Regions from separate parts of the Homo sapiens genome. Here region 1 is linked to region 2. Evidence: promoter capture Hi-C in 16 types of primary human blood cells and fetal thymus (Javierre and others, 2016). All regions are on one chromosome and are shown on one strand. The core of a region is centred on a gene start or on the middle of the fragment in contact, and the rest is flanking DNA. Distances in the headings are between cores, read along the strand shown.

Region 1 (3,997 bases), core at 356-2,855, 170 kb after region 2:
AACTTCCTCAGGGAAGGGATATACACAGAATCCAATTAAGCATTTAAGGAGGAAAAGGGGAGAAAAAGATAGTGACTTCCTCCGACTTGCAAGGTACTTGGTTGCATGTTTTATATACAATCTTCAGTTTGTACAGTCAGCCTGTGAGGATAAGATTTTCTAATATCCAACTCAAGATTCTTCAGAGGAGAGAACTGAGGTGAAGAGACATGAAGTGACAATGCCCAAAGTCAAACAGAAGCCAGAAACAGTCAGAACCAGTACTGAGTTCTCTGACTATAAGGCCAGAACTCTTTCTACAGGATGCTTTAATAAAGATTCTCTTTCCAAATCCAGTATCCAGGACTGGTAACTCATAGTTTTAATACTGCCCAGAGCCTATACCAGCAAGACTCTAATTAATGCTTTAGGGAGACTGACAAGAAGAGATGTGTAAGTAATCTGACAGCAGTACATGAATAGCAGAGTCCGGGGGAAGGGACAATCTTTATATATCTCTAGGCCTTGGTTTCTGTATCTCTAAAACAGGAACCATTGCCTGGTCTCTGCTGCCTCTCTCAGGCATGCTGTACAGACATGAGATAAAAGAAACATGGGGCATTTCCAAAGCCCTATATTATACAAACACACTGACTTACCCTGTAGGTTTTTTAGGAGCAGGGAGTGGACTGGAGGTACTTGTCCCCTCGGATGGTGTTGGTACGTCTGCTCCAGGACTGTCATTGTCAGTTGTCCCCAGAGTGACCTCAGGCTGCACACCACTTTTGACGACTGGCGTCTTAGTGACTGCTGTACCACAATTCCCGGGAGCTTCCTTAACCAAAACATGGGCATCGGAGATGATCACTTCCTCCCACTCACTCTCCTCACCTACTTCTCTGGGAGGAGCTACGTTCAGGAGCTGGCTTACAGCTTCCGAATTCTCCAGAGTCAGTTTGGAGGCATTTTCCTTAGAGGAATTTTGCTCAGTGGTGACAGGTTGCTGATTTCTTTTCACCACAGAGCCTTTGGAAGAGACGCCAGAAGCCAATTCCACTTTTACTTTGGCTGGCTTTTCCTAGAAAAATAAGAATACCTTGTATACATAAGGGATTTTACAGTTGATGACATTCACAAACATTCTCTCATTTTTAATAACATATGGGCAATAAATAAGGAAACTAAGGTCCATGAAAGGAAGAAGTTAACTTAAGATCTCAAGTGTAAAACTAGCCTGAATCTAAGTTTTCTGGCTACAGGTTCCTTTCACTATAGCATTAAATGCCTTCGTTTGAATAAAACTGTTCATCTTCTAATGAATTCTTATTGAAAAGCTTCTCCAGGTTTCATCAACCAAATGTTGGCATTTTTTAGGTTTACATTTAGTTTTACATTATTCAAAGGCTACTTCTGTGTGTCTAGAAAGAGGGTGACATACTGCCATACAGGGCCTAAAAGCCCTAAGTTGTTCACCTTGGTGGTCCTTTTATGAGATTCAGTTAATCCCAATGTGGCCGCAACCTCATGTGGACAGATTCAAATTTTCCCATCTCCTTTGGGAAAAATTCTGTTTTTTGTCCCAGATTCTTTAAGGAGAGTCTTAAGAATGACTTGCACATATGTCACATACTTTGCACTGGATCAAATTAACTCATGCATTATTATGTGCTACAAATATTCAAACTCACTAAAAATGGCAGCTGCTATTTCAGCTAGACCTGGCTTTAAAAAGTCCTTGGTGTCTTAGCTTTTATCCAATTAGCACTGCAGTGGAAATAATAGTATTATATATACACACATACGCTTTTAAAAATGTTTTTAAATAGTGGTTGTCTTCAGAAAGGTTTTCTACCCACCATGTATATCATAAAGGGCACTGTAAACTAGGAAACATAAAGGCTGGGTTCTATCAAGCTTAGCTCCACTCCTAATTAGTTATGTGGTATAAGGCAAGCTTCAATTGAATCCTCATTTCCCCTTATGAAATAGCAAAGGGTTGGGCTCTCAGTATTTGTCAACAGGAGCCAGACAGCATTTTGGGTGACCTAATTCTATAGTGTGTAGGACCTCCCTGCACATTACAGAAAGTTTAGTGTCTGTGCCAATGTCACTAAATTTCAATGATTTATCTCCCAGTCGCTTACTACCCAAAAACCCCTCAACATTTCCAAAGCCATCTGCATACTGCACTTCTAGTTCAGAACTGGTAACAGCCAGGCGTCATGGCTCATGCCCGTGATCCTAAGTCTTTGGGAAACTGAGGCAAGAGGCTCACCTAAGCCCAGGAGTTCAAGACCAGTTTGGGAAACATGGCAAGACCACATCTCTACAAAAAAAAAAAAAAAAAAAAAAATTAGCCAGGCATGGTGGTATGCAGCCTGTGTGCCTGTGTTCCCAGCTACTCGAGAGGCTGAGGTGGCAGGATCACTTGACCCCAGGAGGCTGAGGCTGCATGAGCTGTATTCATGCCTGGGTGACAGAGCGAGACCCTGTCCCTGTCTGGAAAAAAAAAAAAAAAAAAAGAGCCAGTAACAGGTGACCTCTTAAGAGCTCTTTGGTAAAGCATTCTCAGATTCTAACACATAATAGCCCCTAAGAGTGAGTTAACATGGAGAAAAATTCCAAGTCAAGTGCACAGAGCTTATTTACTGCAGGAGAGGGAAAATTTAGCAGAAAAACAGGAGACTAAACTCATTTTTTGAGATAAGATTTTTGAGCAAACACTGCCTACTAAGTAGGCTATTTTAGACAAAAATCACCACAGAAAGATTGGGTAATTTAAGCAATCTGAGCAAAACAACTCTACCTGGTGATCTCACATTTCATTAACTCAGCCTACTCATTTTAGATGTTACTTTCAAAATTCTCTGAGGCTGCAGGCTCAGAGAGACCTCAACTGCTGCCATCAGAGAGCCTTAAGAATGAAGCCTTGAGCTAAACAGCCTTATATACTATCTTTTGTTTTATCCAACTCATTGGGAACTATGCCACATATTTCTTGGGCTAATTTTAGCCAGTATGAACTCTAGAACAATACAACAAAAGGTGAGTCATTTCCTGGCTGGCACAAACACACTTGGAGCTTTTAGAGACAAATTATACTTGCTGCCTCAAAAATCAGAATTCAAGAAATCTTATTAATAGATCGGGGTGTCCAATTTTGGCTTCCCTGGGCCACATTGGAAGAACTGTCTTGAGTCACACATAAAATACACTAACACTAACAATAGCTGATGAGCCTAAAAAAATAAAAATAAAATAATCACACACAAAAAAATATAATGTTTTGCTCTTTGAGGAAGACACAGTCATAGGTGGTGCGGAGCTGCGGTCCGCCCGCTCCTGCCCGCTCCTGCTCCTGACTCACCGCTGTTCTCTCTCGCCAAGGAACAAGTCGGTCAGGAAGCCCGCTGCAGCCAAGGCTTTTAAAGACACCGGAAAAACACCCATGGAGCTGGAGGTGGCAATTCACCGAATTCAAATCACTCTAACGAGCTGCAACATAAAATCCCTGGAGAAGATGTGTGCTGACTTGATCAGAGGAGCAAAGGAAAAGAATCTCAGTGAAAGGATCAGTTCGAATGCCTACCAAGACTTTGAGAATCACTACAAGAAAAACTTGTGGTCAAGGTTCTAAGACATAGGAATGTTTCCATAGGAGAATCCACAAGCAACTAATTGACTTGCACAGTCCTTCTGAGATTGTTAAGCAAATTACTTCCATCAGTACTGAGCCAGGAGTTGAGGTGCAAGTCACCACTGCAGATGCTTAAGTCAACTATTTTAATACATTGATTACCAGTTGTTAAAAAACAAAAAATCTCAATGTTTTAAGATAGTTTATGAATTTGTGTTGGGCTTCATTCAAAGCCATCCTGGGCCATAGGTTGGACAAGCTTGTCTTACATTCTGCAGCTAAACAGCACAGCAATGCCTGAGAAGTGTGGTTTAGTGGAAAAGGCAATGGGATAATTGGCTGTGTGAATTTAGTAAGTCGCTTTTTCAAAATCTATTTTTC
Region 2 (4,252 bases), core at 278-2,777:
CGTGGTGGCGGGCGCCTATAGTCCCAGCTACTCGGGAGGCTGAGGCAGGAGAATGGCGTGAACCCGGGAGGCAGAGCTTGCAGTGAGCCGAGATCACACCACTGCACTCCAACCTGGGTGACAGAGCGAGACTCCGTCTCAAAAAAAAAAAACAAGAAAAAGAAAAAAGACACACCACAGTGGTTCCAAGCCCAGCTGCCCCAGAGCAGAGAACTTGAATGAATGAGTGTGTGTGTGAGTGAGTGTGAGTGTGAATGTGTGTGTATGTAGGGAGGTTGATAACACCAGCCCCTGAGAACAGTCTTCTCACATCTACCAGCCCTTTAGCATTCTTCCCCACACCTCACACACCCAGTGGGGCCTGTTTTGGTGCCTCCAGGCTAGGGCTTAGCCAGAGGAGGTTCAGGTTAGAGAATGAACTTGTCCAAAGTCACCAGGCAAGTGGCAGCGGCAGAAATAGTATTCAGGAGATCTGACTCCTTAGTTAGGACTGGTACAAGCCAGAAAACGTCCCCCAGTATTCCCCCTCCCCATATCCTGACAGCTTGGCTGAGAGGTCCAATCCCACAAGGCAAGGTAGGGAGAGCCTGAGGTCTGGGCCCACAGCCACTCTCCCATACCAGCTTCCATCTTCATTGATCATATCCTCCTGCCTCCGATAGCCCCCTCCCTGTCTTTGCCTCCCTTCAGCCCTGCTGAGGGGCAGCCTGGGGTCTCAGCAGGCAAGCTAAGGGGGCGGGGAGGGAGCAGGCAGGAAAGAGGAGAGTCTTCCCGCAGGCTCAGGGAGCCGGCTTCAGTATGGATGACCGCCTCCCACTCCCCACCCCTCAGATGAGTCCAGCTCAACGCTCAGGTATTCCAATACCCCCCACACCCGGCAATCAGCTCCTGGCGGGGAGCAGCAGGGTGGAATTGGGGAAGAGGTGGGTGCCTGGCCCCGGCCGCCCCTACCCCGCGCCTCCGGGGACTGCAGACACCTGTTCATAGGCCTGGCCCAGTGAACCAGGACTCCCCTCATACTACATCCCGAACCCCAGATGGCAGGGGCAGAGGTGGGGGCGCAGACCGTGACCCTGACCCTCCCTGTTATCCAGCTGAGTCGGGCCTTCCCCAGAGCCCGAAGCTGGTCTGGGTGCATCCTCAGACCTTCCCCAGGGGCCTCGTTGGGGGCGGGTCTCTCCAACCCTCCTCCAGGTGCACCCCCAGCGCCCCCGCCCTCGTGCCCTACCTTGCGGAGGTGAGCTCCCTGGAGCTTCTTCATCTTGGAGAGCGGGTGGCCGGGGCTCAGCTGCCCCGGAGCGCAGAGAGCGAGGGCACGAGAGATGGTCCGCTGGCCACTGCGCCTTTGCCCCCGCGGCTCCCGCGCACCGGCTGGGGCGGGCACGGACGCAGGCGCTGCCGTCTGGCGGCTGCGGGCGTGGAGCGCGGGCAGGGCGCTGCGAATGCCTTGTCTGTCCCTGCGCAGCGCCCGAGGCTGGGGAAGGGTGCACTGCTGCGCCCGCATAGACACCCAGACAGACAGCTGACGGACGGACGGCGGGGGGATGCGCGCGCCCCCGCACGCAGAGCTGCGGATTGGAGAGCCCTGAGCGAGTGGGGAGGGGGGTTCGCGACGGAAACCCTCGGCTTTCTGCGTGACCTTGGGCAAGCGACCTGCCCTCTCTGGGACTCCCTTTCCACAGTTGGGCAAGGAACACTAACAGCCCACCCCCCTGCGTCGTCTTTGCTGTGCGACCTTAGGGGATAAGAATCTCTCCTCTCTTACAGGAGTGTGAGCAATTCAGGAAGATGGAGCATAGAAAACATCTAGCACAAAGAGCCTGACACATAGTAGGTGCTCAGTTAACATTTATTCACTGACTGTGGGTTGCCCACGCCACCATTAGTCCAATTATTCAATCTATCAGTATTTATTGAGCACCTAAAATGTGCCAGGTCCTGAACTAGGTGTCCTATTTTCTCAACCTGGAGAGACAGGTGTCGTTACTCCTATTCTACAGATGAGGAAGCTGAGGGACAGGGAAGTTAAGTTACTTACTCAAAGTCACGGGGCTAATGAGTGACACCAGGGACAGAGTCAGGCTTCATGGACCTTTAGGCTAGTAGAGTCTTCAACTCTCCTCCTTTCCTTAAGATGAAAGCAAAATGGGGAGGTTTGGGTGAGCAGAAGGGACAGGCAAGTGCCACAGTGTCACTGTGATCTGTGACTTAGATGATTAGTAACTGGTTTCCTGTCCAGCAGCAGTATGGCTTCTGGAAAGTTCTAATTTCATATCTGTAAAATGGGCCACGAGCCGCCCATGCATTGTTGCCTCAGAATGTTCTGAGGGTCCAGTGAGCCTGTGGCTAGGATGGGAAATGATGAGCTGGAGCAATGGCACACGTTGGTTTGCTGGGACTGACTGATAGACACTAGCGGATCAGTATATACATTACAAATTGTGTCCTTTTCACCCTCGCAAGTGTCCCAGTTTAGACATTAACCATACATCTGTTTGGCTCACTATCAGTTGACACGGTGGGAGGCCTTTGGGGAGAGATGAGAATAAGGTTCTGCTCTCTCCCACCTCTGGAGCTTGAAAAAAGGTTGGAGGGGTTTAAGTCAAAGCATGGACTTGGGTAAAGGCCTGGCCAGGCTCCAGTCCACCCCTTCCCCTGCCCAGGTCCTGTCAAACTTCTCTCCCCTTTGAGCCTGGCCACAAAGGGCAAACCAGGGGCTCTCCAGACCCAGGAGGAAGGTGTCTCCTCTGCCCCCTGCCTGCTGACCCATATGGGGCCAAGAGTGGCTGTGAGTGTGAAGAGAAGGAGCATTTATGGAGCCCTACTGTGTGCATTATGAAGGATTTTTGCATCCAACATCTAATTTTTAATTCTTTCCAACTGTCTGGGAAGACATGTTTGTGCATCTCATTTTACACCTGTGGAAACTGTCCCAGAGGAGTGAAGTCATGCACTGGGCGTTGGGGATGAAGCCAGGAAAGCTGTGGGTCATGGCTGGGAAAGGCAGAAGCCAAGGGCTCCTGAATCCAAGGAGGCCCAGGCAGGAAACTTCCCCATCCCTCACCCAAGGCTTGTCAATGCATCTTGTACAAAAGAGGCTCAACCTTGCTCAACCACTCCCTCCCATTGGCACTTGGGTTTCATGAGACCCTTTGGAAGGCACAGAGGGCCACAGGGACAGCGAGCAGGGATGAGGCAGTTGGCTCAGGAGCCAAGAAGACTGGCCTCTTTATGACCCTTCCTAGCAGCACCTGCTCCTCCCACTTCACGGACCCAGCCCTGGGGGAGAAGAAGGGAGTGGACCAGGGCTTTAGCTTCCCTTGAGCAGACACATCAGGGGGTGACCACTGAGCCACTGTGGCAGTCACTGGGACTGTGAGGTGCAAATGGATCTAGGCCCATGCCTTTCAGATAGGGAAACTGAGACCCAGAGGGGCAGGATTTGCAAAATCACTCAGTGATTCAGTAAAGACAGGATCATGTCTATAACCTAGGAGTCTGACCTCACCCAGGCTCTGCCCTCTAGCTCATACCTCTCTGCCACCATCACCTCCATCCCCACAGCCCTGGTGGGGAAAGTCTGCCCTTTCATAAAACAAACAAAACTCAAAGATTTTCTTTTCTTTATTTTTTTGAGAGAGATCTTGCTCTATTACCCAGGTTGATGTGCAGTGGCTCCATCTCGGCTCACCACAACCTTCGCTTCCTGAACTCAAGCTACCCTCCCACCTCAGCCTCCCAAGCAACTGGGACTACAGGTGTGTGCCACCATGACTGGCTAATTTTTGTATTTTTTTGTAGAGACAGGGTCTTGCTATATTACCCAGGCTGATCTTGAACTCTTGAGATCAAGGGATCTTTCTGCCTCTGCCTCCCAAAGTGCTGGGATTACAGGCATGAGCCACTGTGCCCAGCCAAAACTCCAAGATTTTCTAAAAGACATTATCCACATAAATCAATCTACCCACTGAAGCTCCAATTTTATGATCATACAACTGGCCAGGAGTCTGGCAACCAAGCACATTTGACAATTGCTGTCACCACCATCTCCTCTCCCCCATTCCAGAGGGGGTTTGATTCATGGCAAAATGACTGCTTAGGAATCCAAATGGTAAATATTCACTCTCCCTTTCCCCCTTCTCTCCCTGTTGTGGTCTCATATCAAACCAGAAGTGCAATGGAGATGTGTGTGTGTGATTTAAGGAAAGTGTCAGATGAACTGTACTTCCTTTTATTATATAGGGAGATATTT

What was found. Contacts are between HindIII fragments. The CHiCAGO score rates a contact against its expected background, and 5 or more counts as called.
Region 1: a contact is called between a fragment that was not itself captured here and the fragment with the promoter of SLC6A7 in region 2, in 1 of 17 cell types (megakaryocytes). The highest score is 6.1, in megakaryocytes.

What each region holds. Positions count from the first base shown.
Region 1 is chr5:150,021,322-150,025,318 of GRCh38, reverse strand. HMGXB3 (HMG-box containing 3) reads right to left here. Exons shown (of 20, transcript NM_014983.3): 7 at 639-1,057. It also overlaps the pseudogene RPS20P4. Among named protein-coding and RNA genes, the nearest start is that of HMGXB3, 23 kb to the right of the region's middle. The HindIII fragment of the contact is 580 bases long and covers 1,316-1,895 here.
Region 2 is chr5:150,187,337-150,191,588 of GRCh38, reverse strand. It overlaps SLC6A7 (solute carrier family 6 member 7), which reads right to left and starts at 1,527. Exons shown (of 14, transcript NM_014228.5): 1 at 1,229-1,527. The coding sequence starts at 1,261. The HindIII fragment of the contact is 12,060 bases long and covers 1-4,252 here.